Linked DNA regions of Homo sapiens: region 1 is linked to region 2. Evidence: promoter capture Hi-C in human tissues and cell types (Jung and others, 2019). All regions are on one chromosome and are shown on one strand. The core of a region is centred on a gene start or on the middle of the fragment in contact, and the rest is flanking DNA. Distances in the headings are between cores, read along the strand shown.

The links. Contacts are between HindIII fragments. The study calls those that stand out against the background at their distance.
Region 1: a contact is called between a fragment that was not itself captured here and the fragment with the promoter of CHST6 in region 2, in 1 of the 25 tissues and cell types used here (mesendoderm cells).

Annotation. Positions count from the first base shown.
Region 1 is chr16:75,450,950-75,455,204 of GRCh38, forward strand. TMEM170A (transmembrane protein 170A) reads right to left here. Exons shown (of 3, transcript NM_145254.3): 2 at 720-890. Among named protein-coding and RNA genes, the nearest start is that of TMEM170A, 12 kb to the right of the region's middle. The HindIII fragment of the contact is 5,235 bases long and covers 1-4,255 here.
Region 2 is chr16:75,493,130-75,497,520 of GRCh38, forward strand. It overlaps CHST6 (carbohydrate sulfotransferase 6), which reads right to left and starts at 2,312. Exons shown (of 3, transcript NM_021615.5): 1 at 1,811-2,312. RefSeq lists an enhancer at 1,706-1,885 and a silencer at 2,186-2,515. The HindIII fragment of the contact is 2,567 bases long and covers 1,420-3,986 here.

The DNA of each region.
Region 1 (4,255 bases), core at 1,053-3,552, 42 kb before region 2:
CTACACCTGGCAAAGAATTCTTGTCATCAAAATTTGTCTTCTATCTTTACAGCAACCACACCCACATGAGTGGAAGTAATTCACCAACCATCTTGCAGGGCCAATGCTCAAGTGATAGCTGATCAGAGAGGAGAAGTAGCTTCCAAAAAGATAAATTTTCCTCTTGCTGGTGGCCTCTCTCACGAGATATATCTCACAAAGTTTAACATGACTTCCCTGAAGCCACTGAGATGAAATCTGACTCAAGAAGTCAAAGAGGTTAGCCAAGTAATAGGACCTTGGGGGTGGAAAAAAAAAATCAATACATTAAAAAAACTGGGCCAGGCACAGTGGCTCACGCCTGTAATCCCAGCATTTTGGGAGGCCAAGGTGGGCAGATTGCTTGAGCTCAGGAGTTCGAGACCCGGGCAACATGACGAAACCCTGTCTCTACAAAAAATACAAAAAAAATTAGCGGGGCATGGTGGCACACCCCTGTAGTCCAAGCTTCTTGGGAGGCTGATGGAGGAGGATTACTTGAGCCCAAGAGGTGGAGGCTGCAGTGAGCCAATATTGCAACCACTGCACTCCGGCCTTGGTGACATAGGGAGACCCTGTCTGGACTTGCAGTTAAAAGGCACTCTTTCCTTCATCCTACTCAGATATGTTTTCTAGAATAGGTCCTGAAATTGACTAGTCATATTAAACATTTTTGACTGGTATTTTAATGTCTAACATACTTGTCAAGATTCCAGCAGTAATTGGTCCCACGATGCCCATCAACAGGATGCTTACAGACATGAACCTACCATATTTGTGATGTCTGAGGGTGAAGAGGGCCAGTAATCCAGCAGGGACATGAAAGAAGAGAGAAGACACCAGTGCCCACAGGAATACACCATACCACATCTCTATGAGGGAAGACAAAGAAAAGTTGTGAATCACTGCCCTTCCCAGGACAATCATTGCAGAGGGTACTCATCATACCCGTCATTTCATTTTCAACACCGTTTCTTTTTTCCTTTTTTTTGAAAAATTTTTATTATTTTTAATTTTTTTTTGAGACGGAGTCTCGCTCTGTCACCCAGGCTGGAGTACAGTGGCGTGATCTCGGCTCACTGCAAGCTCTGCCTCCTGGGTTCACACGATTCTCCTGCCTCAGCCTCCCGAGTAGCTGGGACTACAGGCACCCGCCACCGCGCCTGGCTAATTTTTTGTATTTTTAGTAGAGACGGGGTTTCACCATGTTAACCAGGATGGTCTCGATCTCCTGACCTCATGATCCGCCCGCCTCGGCCTCCCAAGTGCTGGGATTACAGGCGTGAGCCACCGCGCCCAGTCAAAAATTTTTATTTTTAAAGACGGGGTCTCACTCCGTCACCCAGGCTGCAGTGCAATGGCACCATCATGGCTCACTGCAGCCTTGACCTCCTAGGTCTGGGTGTTCTCCCGCCTCAGCCTCCGGAGTGGCTGGAACTACAGATGTGTGCTACCACGCCTGGCAAAATTCTTTTTTTTTTAATTTTCTTTTTTTATGAGACAGGGTCTCACTACTCTGTTGCCCAGGATGGAGTGCAGTGGGAGTTTCGCCAGGCTGGTCTCAAACTCCCAACCTCAGGTGATCTGCCCGCCTTGGCCTCCCAAAGTGCTAGGATAACAGGCATGAGCCACTGCGCTTGGCCTGTATTTTCTTTAGAGATGGGGTCTCACCGTGTTGCCCAGGCTGGTCTTGAATGCCTCGGCTCAAACAATCCGCCCAACTTGGCCTCCTAAAGGGCAGGGATTACAGGTGTGAGGCCACCGCACCCGGCCTTCAACATCATTTACTTGCAAAGTAGGGTTCATCAGTCAAATATCCAAATATTGACGGTTTTAGTGTGTTCAACAAATTACTGCCTACAGACCCACCACCTGTTTTTTACACACTTATCTGAACCCATTCATAATACTTTTATACATACACACTTATCTGAAACCATTTACAAGAGTTTTGCACACACATACTTATTCAACCCATGCCCTTTCATTTAAGTATTGTTTATGGCTGCCTTCCAGCTTCAAGGGCAAAGCTGATAACAGTGACACAGACCACATGACCCATAAAGCCTAACATATTTACTATCTGGCCCTTCACAGAAAAAGCTGACCAATCTCTGTACCCTCAAACTGAAAAAAAAGGTTCATCTAGATTTCAAAATTGACCTAAATAATGTCCCCGACCATAACTGGGCACGGCAGCTCACGACTGTAATCCCAACACTTCAGGTGGCCAAGGTGGGCAGGTCGCTTGAGCCCAGGAGTTTGAGACTAGCTTGGGCAATACAGCGAAACCCTGTCTCTACAAAAAATACAAAAATTAGCCTGGCATGGTATTGCATACCTGTAGTCCTAGCTACTCGAGAGGCTGAGGTGGGAGGATTGCTTGAGCCTGGGAGGCAGAGGTTGCAGTAAGTCAAGATCATGCTACTGCACTCCTGCCTGGGCAACAGGGTGAGACGGTCTCAAAAAACTCCCCCAAAAACCAAAAAACCCAAACAAAAATAATTCCCCCATAAGAGGCACAAGCCAAAGAGCCAATTGATACGGTACTATGCAATCAATGCCTGTTGATCTTTCCTGACCTTTTGATCACTCAGTCTTCTAAAATGGACAGCTATACAATTATATTCATTCCACAATCATTTGAAAGACAATGCAGTAAATATCAAGCCATCACCTCCTATTAGGATTTCAAAGCTCTTTAGGATATGAAATAAATACCAGAAAATATAAATGTTTGGCTTGAAGACAAATGGCAGGTAAACAACAGTGCAGGTTAGGAGAGCTGGCTCCTACAGAACTCTAATCACTCTTAAGGTGTCTGTAACTCAGGCAACATTAAGATACATATAATCATCAACTATGTATGAAAAACTATGCATGAGGCACCCATATAAAGAAAACAAAACCATCCTGCTGGAATGTGACTTTACAATTTGTTAAATGGCCCATGTAGCATTTCCCCCCAGTGAACCCAAGGCAAGGCCTTAGAATCCTCAAGGTAGCTCTCCAGCTACCCACAGGGAGGGACTGGCGGTGACACATTAGATAAAACCCACTGTCCATCCTTGGCTAGAGGCAGGTAAGTAGCAAGTGATTTTTGAGATCAGTGAAGAGCTTAGCTCAGCAGGGTTTCTTGACCACCGCCCTCCGCCCTATTGACATTTGGACCAGATAACTTTTCATTGTGGGGGCTGCACTGTGCACTGCAGGATATGGAGAGGCACCTCTGGCCTGCAGCACTCTATTCCCAGTTGTGTCAACCAAAAATATTTCCAGACATTGTCAAATGTCCCCAAGGGGGCAAAACTACCCTGATTAAAAACCACGGGCTTTACCAAAGCACAGAGGCTTTATAAGAGCCATGATGGCCGGGCGTGGTAGCTCACACCTGTAATCCCACCACTTTGGGAGGTCGAGGTGGGCTAATCACGAGGTCAGGAGTTCAAGACCAGCCTGGCCAACATAGTGAAACCCTGTCTCTCTAAAAATACACACACATACACACACACACAAAATTAGCCGGGCATGGTGGCAGGCACCTGTAGTCCCAGCTACTTGGGAGGCTGAGGCAGGAGAATCGCTTGAACCCAGGAGGCAGAGGTTGCAGTGAGCTCAGATCACACCACTGCACTCCAGCCTGGGAGACAGAATGACACTCCGTCTCAAAAAAATAAAAGAGCAATGACAGTTAAAGCTATAAAGACAGATGAGGGAAACCCTTTGGGGAATTTGACACCAGACTAAGGACTTCACAAAAGATCTAAAGTGCCAGTATAGGTTTTGAGCAGTAACGGTTGTCATGACATTATTCCACAGGCCCCACCTGACACTCCTAGTTGGAATACAAACTGGAAAACCACCTTTTTGCAGGGTAATTTGGAAGTCAAATGTGCATGGCCCTTGCTGCAACAATTTTACTTCCGGGGATACACCCCACAGAAAAGCATAGGTAGGCAAGGACAGAGGTAACAAGAAGGTCCCAACAGCATTGTCCATAATATCAAAAACTAGAAGTCACCTGCATGGCTATCACTGCAGAATTTGGAAAACACATTCTGTGCACCCACGTAATACTACAAAGTCCCATTAAAATATGCAATAGATGGGCTGGGCACAGTGGCTCACGCCTGTAATCCCAGCACTCTGGGAGGCTGAGGCAGGCAGATCACGAGGTCAGAAGATTGAGACCATCCTGGCTAACACGGTAAAACCCCGTCTCTACTAAAAATACAAA
Region 2 (4,391 bases), core at 1,062-3,561:
CACTGAGGTTAAGAGTGTGAATCCCACTTGACCATTTACTGAGCGATCTTGTGCAAGTTACTTCCTTCTGTGCCTGCTTGGTTAAAAAAAAATCTGGAAGGTCAGGTGCGGTGGCTCACACCTGTAATCCCAGCACTTTGCGAGGCTGAGGAGGGCGGATCACGAGGTCAGGAGTTTGAGACCAGCCTGACCAACATAGTGAAACCCCATCTTTACTAAAAATACAAAAATTAGCCGGGCGTGGTGGCGGGTGCCTGTAATCCCAGCTACTCAGGAATTTGAGGCAGGAGAATCGCTTGAACCTGGGATGCGGAGAGGTTGCAGTGAGCCGAGATTATGTCACTTTCACTGCACTCCAGCCTCGGTGACAGAGCGAGACTCCGTATCAAAAAAAAAAAAAAAAATCTGTAAAGTGGGGGAAACAATATAACCCAACTCATGGGCTTGATTGAAAGAGTGAGTGAGTGGATATTTGTAAAGCAGAACAAAGTCTGGCGCATAGTGCACTTATGAGTATTTGCTTAGCAATCTTCCTTCCTGGGCCACACTTATATTCTATGAATCCAAGGGAAAGTCTTTGAATGAGGAAAACCCAAGGACAATGGCTCTACCAGATTCAGGTGCCCCAGTGCCCCAGCAACAGAATGTGGCAGGCACAGACAGGGTCCCCACAAGGGCAAACAAAACAGAAGACGCTGGAAAGTCATGGCTAGAGGCCTGGCTTGTGTTTTTTCTGAGATGGAGTCTCGCTGTTGTCCAGACTGGAGTGAAGTACCGCAATCTCAGCTCACTGCAACCTCCGCCTCCTGGGTTCAAGTGATTCTTCTGCCTCAGCCTCCCAAGTAGCTGGGATTACAGGCACTCACCACCATGCCCAGCTTATTTTTGTATTTTTAGTAGAGATGGGGTTTCACCATGTTGGCCAGGCTGGTCTTGAACTCCTGACCTCAGGTGATCCACCTGCCTCGGCCTCCCAAAGTGCTGGGATTACAGGCGTGAACCACTGCGACTGGCCTTAGAAGCTTGGCTTCTGAAGCCGGATTGGGTTCAAATCCTGTCTCTACTACCAGTGAGGGGTGTGACTTAGAGCAAGTCACTCTCTGGCTCTCTATACTCCAGTTGACTCTGTTTGTAGAACAAAGCCAGAAAAGTTCCGGCCTCTCAGGCTGGAGAGGAGCCCAGCCCCAGCTCCCGGAGCAGCATAGCACCCTCAGAGGCCCTGGTACTTGGCCTACTCGCTTGTGGGTTTAAGTCAGCCAACTCCTTTCTGCTCTTCAGGCCTCAGTTTTCCCATCCTCAAAAATGGGAAACTTGACTGCCTTGCCTCTGTGAAAAAGGGAGGAGAAAGGAAAGTCAACATTTGCTAGGCACCTGTCCTGAGGCCCAGAGGGCCTGTCCTGAAGCCCAAGATGAAGCCGTCAGAAGCAGTGACGCAGGACTCCAATTCCCCTGGGTCTGGTTCCAAATCAACCCGCCAAGCTACCGTCTCTCAATAATTCTATGGAAAAAGCCCTTGGAGAGCTTTTGAAAGTCATGTCCTTTGAAACTCAAGTATCGAGACAAAAGGGGTTCTCCCCTCGCAGTGAGGATTCTCCTGCGCAGCCGAAGCCCCAGCAAGACACTTCCAAACCGGCGCCAACAGCGGCGATGCCCTTTCCACGTTGCTGATGGAAAAGCCACTCCCAGCTCTTCCCGCCACCCCAGGTCCCCGGTGCAGGACAGAGGAGCGTCCCCAGCTGTGCCACCAGCCCGGCCCCCAGCCGACCCGAGTGTGGGGACATCCCCCGCGGAGAATGAAGAACCAACGTACCCCAAAGCTTGGCGGCTCTGCCCGAGCTGCAGCGGCACGGTGGGGGACGCCTCTCTCCCTGGACTCAGCAAAGGCTCCCAAACGTCGTCTCTTCCAAATTCCACCGCACAGCCAGCTCTTTCTCTTCACTGGGAGGGTCCGCAGGGGCTGACTTGCTCCTTAAGGTCCCAAGACTATTAAGCGACACCCGGTGAGGCCGGGAAAGGGGCTCTAAGAGGCATGGACGAGAGTTGGCGGTGACCAAGCCACTGGAAGCTCCTGGAGACTCGAGGTAGAACGAATGTGGGAACAGGGCAGGAGTCCCAGAATGGGATGTTGAGGCTGGGGGTGTCCTGGGGCTACCACAGGGAAGGACCCGGCGCAGAGCTCCCTCTGGAACCCGGCACTGCGGCCCGCGCCCTCTACTCCCCGCGCGCCGGCCGGCAACCCTCGGCGCTGCCCGGTGCAGCCCGCCCGAGCGCACACAATGAGGCGCTTTCAGACGTGGCTGCGGTCCCGAGGTGGCCAGCGGGAGCTAGCGCCGTGGGGGAAGGAAGGAGCCGGTTGGCCCACCCCCGACCGAGGGGCCACGCCTCGGGGGAGGGGCGCCGGCCGAGGGCGGGGCAGGAGGGCCCAGGTGGGCTGGGGCTCTGAGAGGCTCAACTTTTAGCCCAGAATGTCAAAGGGCGCTGGCAGAGTCACCTCTCATCTGACTACAGAGGAACGTTGTACCCCACCCCACCCCAAATCCCCAGAGAAGGGGGGCTCCTGGGAGGACAAAGGCCCTAGTGAAGGAAGTCGAATCTTAATCTTGACCCTCCTCACTCTCGGGGGCATCCTTGCGGCGAGGTGACTTGGAATCCAAACCCTTCCCAAGGCCACGGCACCTGGATGACACATGGACCCGGTGCAGTGTCCCAACTGGGAAGAGCGGAGAGACCAGGTGGCCTTAGGAGCTGGGTCCGCAGCTTTTCCCCTCCTCCTGCGCATTCCCTGCCCTAGCCTAGGCCCAGAGGCGCAGGTTCATAGCAGGTCCAGATAAAGACATGATACGTTTCAATAAATAAGATATTTCCGGCCAGGGCTGGGCGCGGTGGCTCACGCCTGTAATCCCAGCACTTTGGGAGGCCGAGGCGGGCGGATCACGAGGTCAGGAGATCGAAATCATCCTGGCTAACACAGTGAAACCCCGTCTCTACTAAAAATACAAAAAAATTAGCCAGGCCTGGTGGCGGGCACCTGTAGTCCCAGCTACTCGGGAGGCTGAGGCAGGAGAATGGCGTGAACCCGGGAGGCGGAGCTTGCAGTGAGCCGAGATCGCACCACTGCACTCCAGCCTGGGCGACAAAGCGAGACTCCCTCGCAAAAAAAAAAAAAAAAAATCCGGCCAGGCGCGGTGTCTCACGCCTGTAATCCCAGCACTTTGGGGGGCCGTAGTGGGTGGATCACGAGGTCAGGAGTTCGAGACCAGCCTGGCCAACAGGGTGAAACCCCGTCTCTACTAAAAATACAAAAATTAGCCGGGCGTGGTGGCAGGCACCTGTAATCCTAGCTACTCAGGAGGCTAAGGCAGGAGAACTGCTTGAGCCCAGGAAGCGGAGGTTGCAGTGAGCTGAGATTGCACCACTGCACTCCAGCCTGGGCGACAGAGCGAAACTGTTTCAAAAAAAAAAAAAAAAAAAATCCCCTTTACAAATAACAGGGCAGAGCCCAGGCACCTGAAAAGGATGAAGCATTTCTAGGTCTTGTCAAATTAGTGATGGGATCTTAATCAAGAACTCCCTGCTGCTGGGAGAAGAAATAAGCAGTCCTTCCTGGTTGTGGTTTGGCAAGATGAATTAAGATTCTTGACAATGGTCGTAAGCTTTTCGGATTGGTAATTCCTTTCTAGGAGCTATCTTAAGGAAATAAACCAGAAACAAGGATTTATGTACAGGGTTCATATAAGTGTTGTTCATGATTTTGATACTGATTTTTTTTTCAGATGGAGTCTCACTTTTGTAGCCCAGGCTGGAGTGCAATGGCAGGATCTAGGCTCACTGCAACCTCCGCCTCTCGAGTTCAAGTGATTCTCTTGCCTCAGCCTCCTGAATAGCTGGGATTACAGGTGCCCACCACCACGCCAGGCTAATTTTTGTACTTTTAGTAGAGACAGGGTTTCACCATGTTGTCCAGGCTGGTCTCGAACTCCTGAGCTCAGATGTGATCTGCCCGCCTCTGTCTCCCAAAGTGCTCGGATTACAGGCATGAGCCACCGTGCCCGGCCTGTTCATGATTTTTAAAAAGTTAGAAATAGTGTATGGGATAGAAAGATGTGTGCCAGAAGGCCAACCATAACTCTGGGTAGGGGATTGGCCGGCAATCATTATTTTCCTTAGGATCATGTAATTTACATTTCCTTAATCAGTATTTAGAAGTTATCTGGCCAGAAAGCTCCAAAACCTCTTTACAAAGCATGAATAAGGAGAGGGGGCAAGGATGTGGAGGATAAGGTAAGAGGGACGCAAAGAGAGAGAATTGCTTTAATAAGCTTCAAGATGGGCACTCAGTGGGGCATTAGACACCTCACCTGCTTTGGCAGAAACTGGACTAATCATTTGGA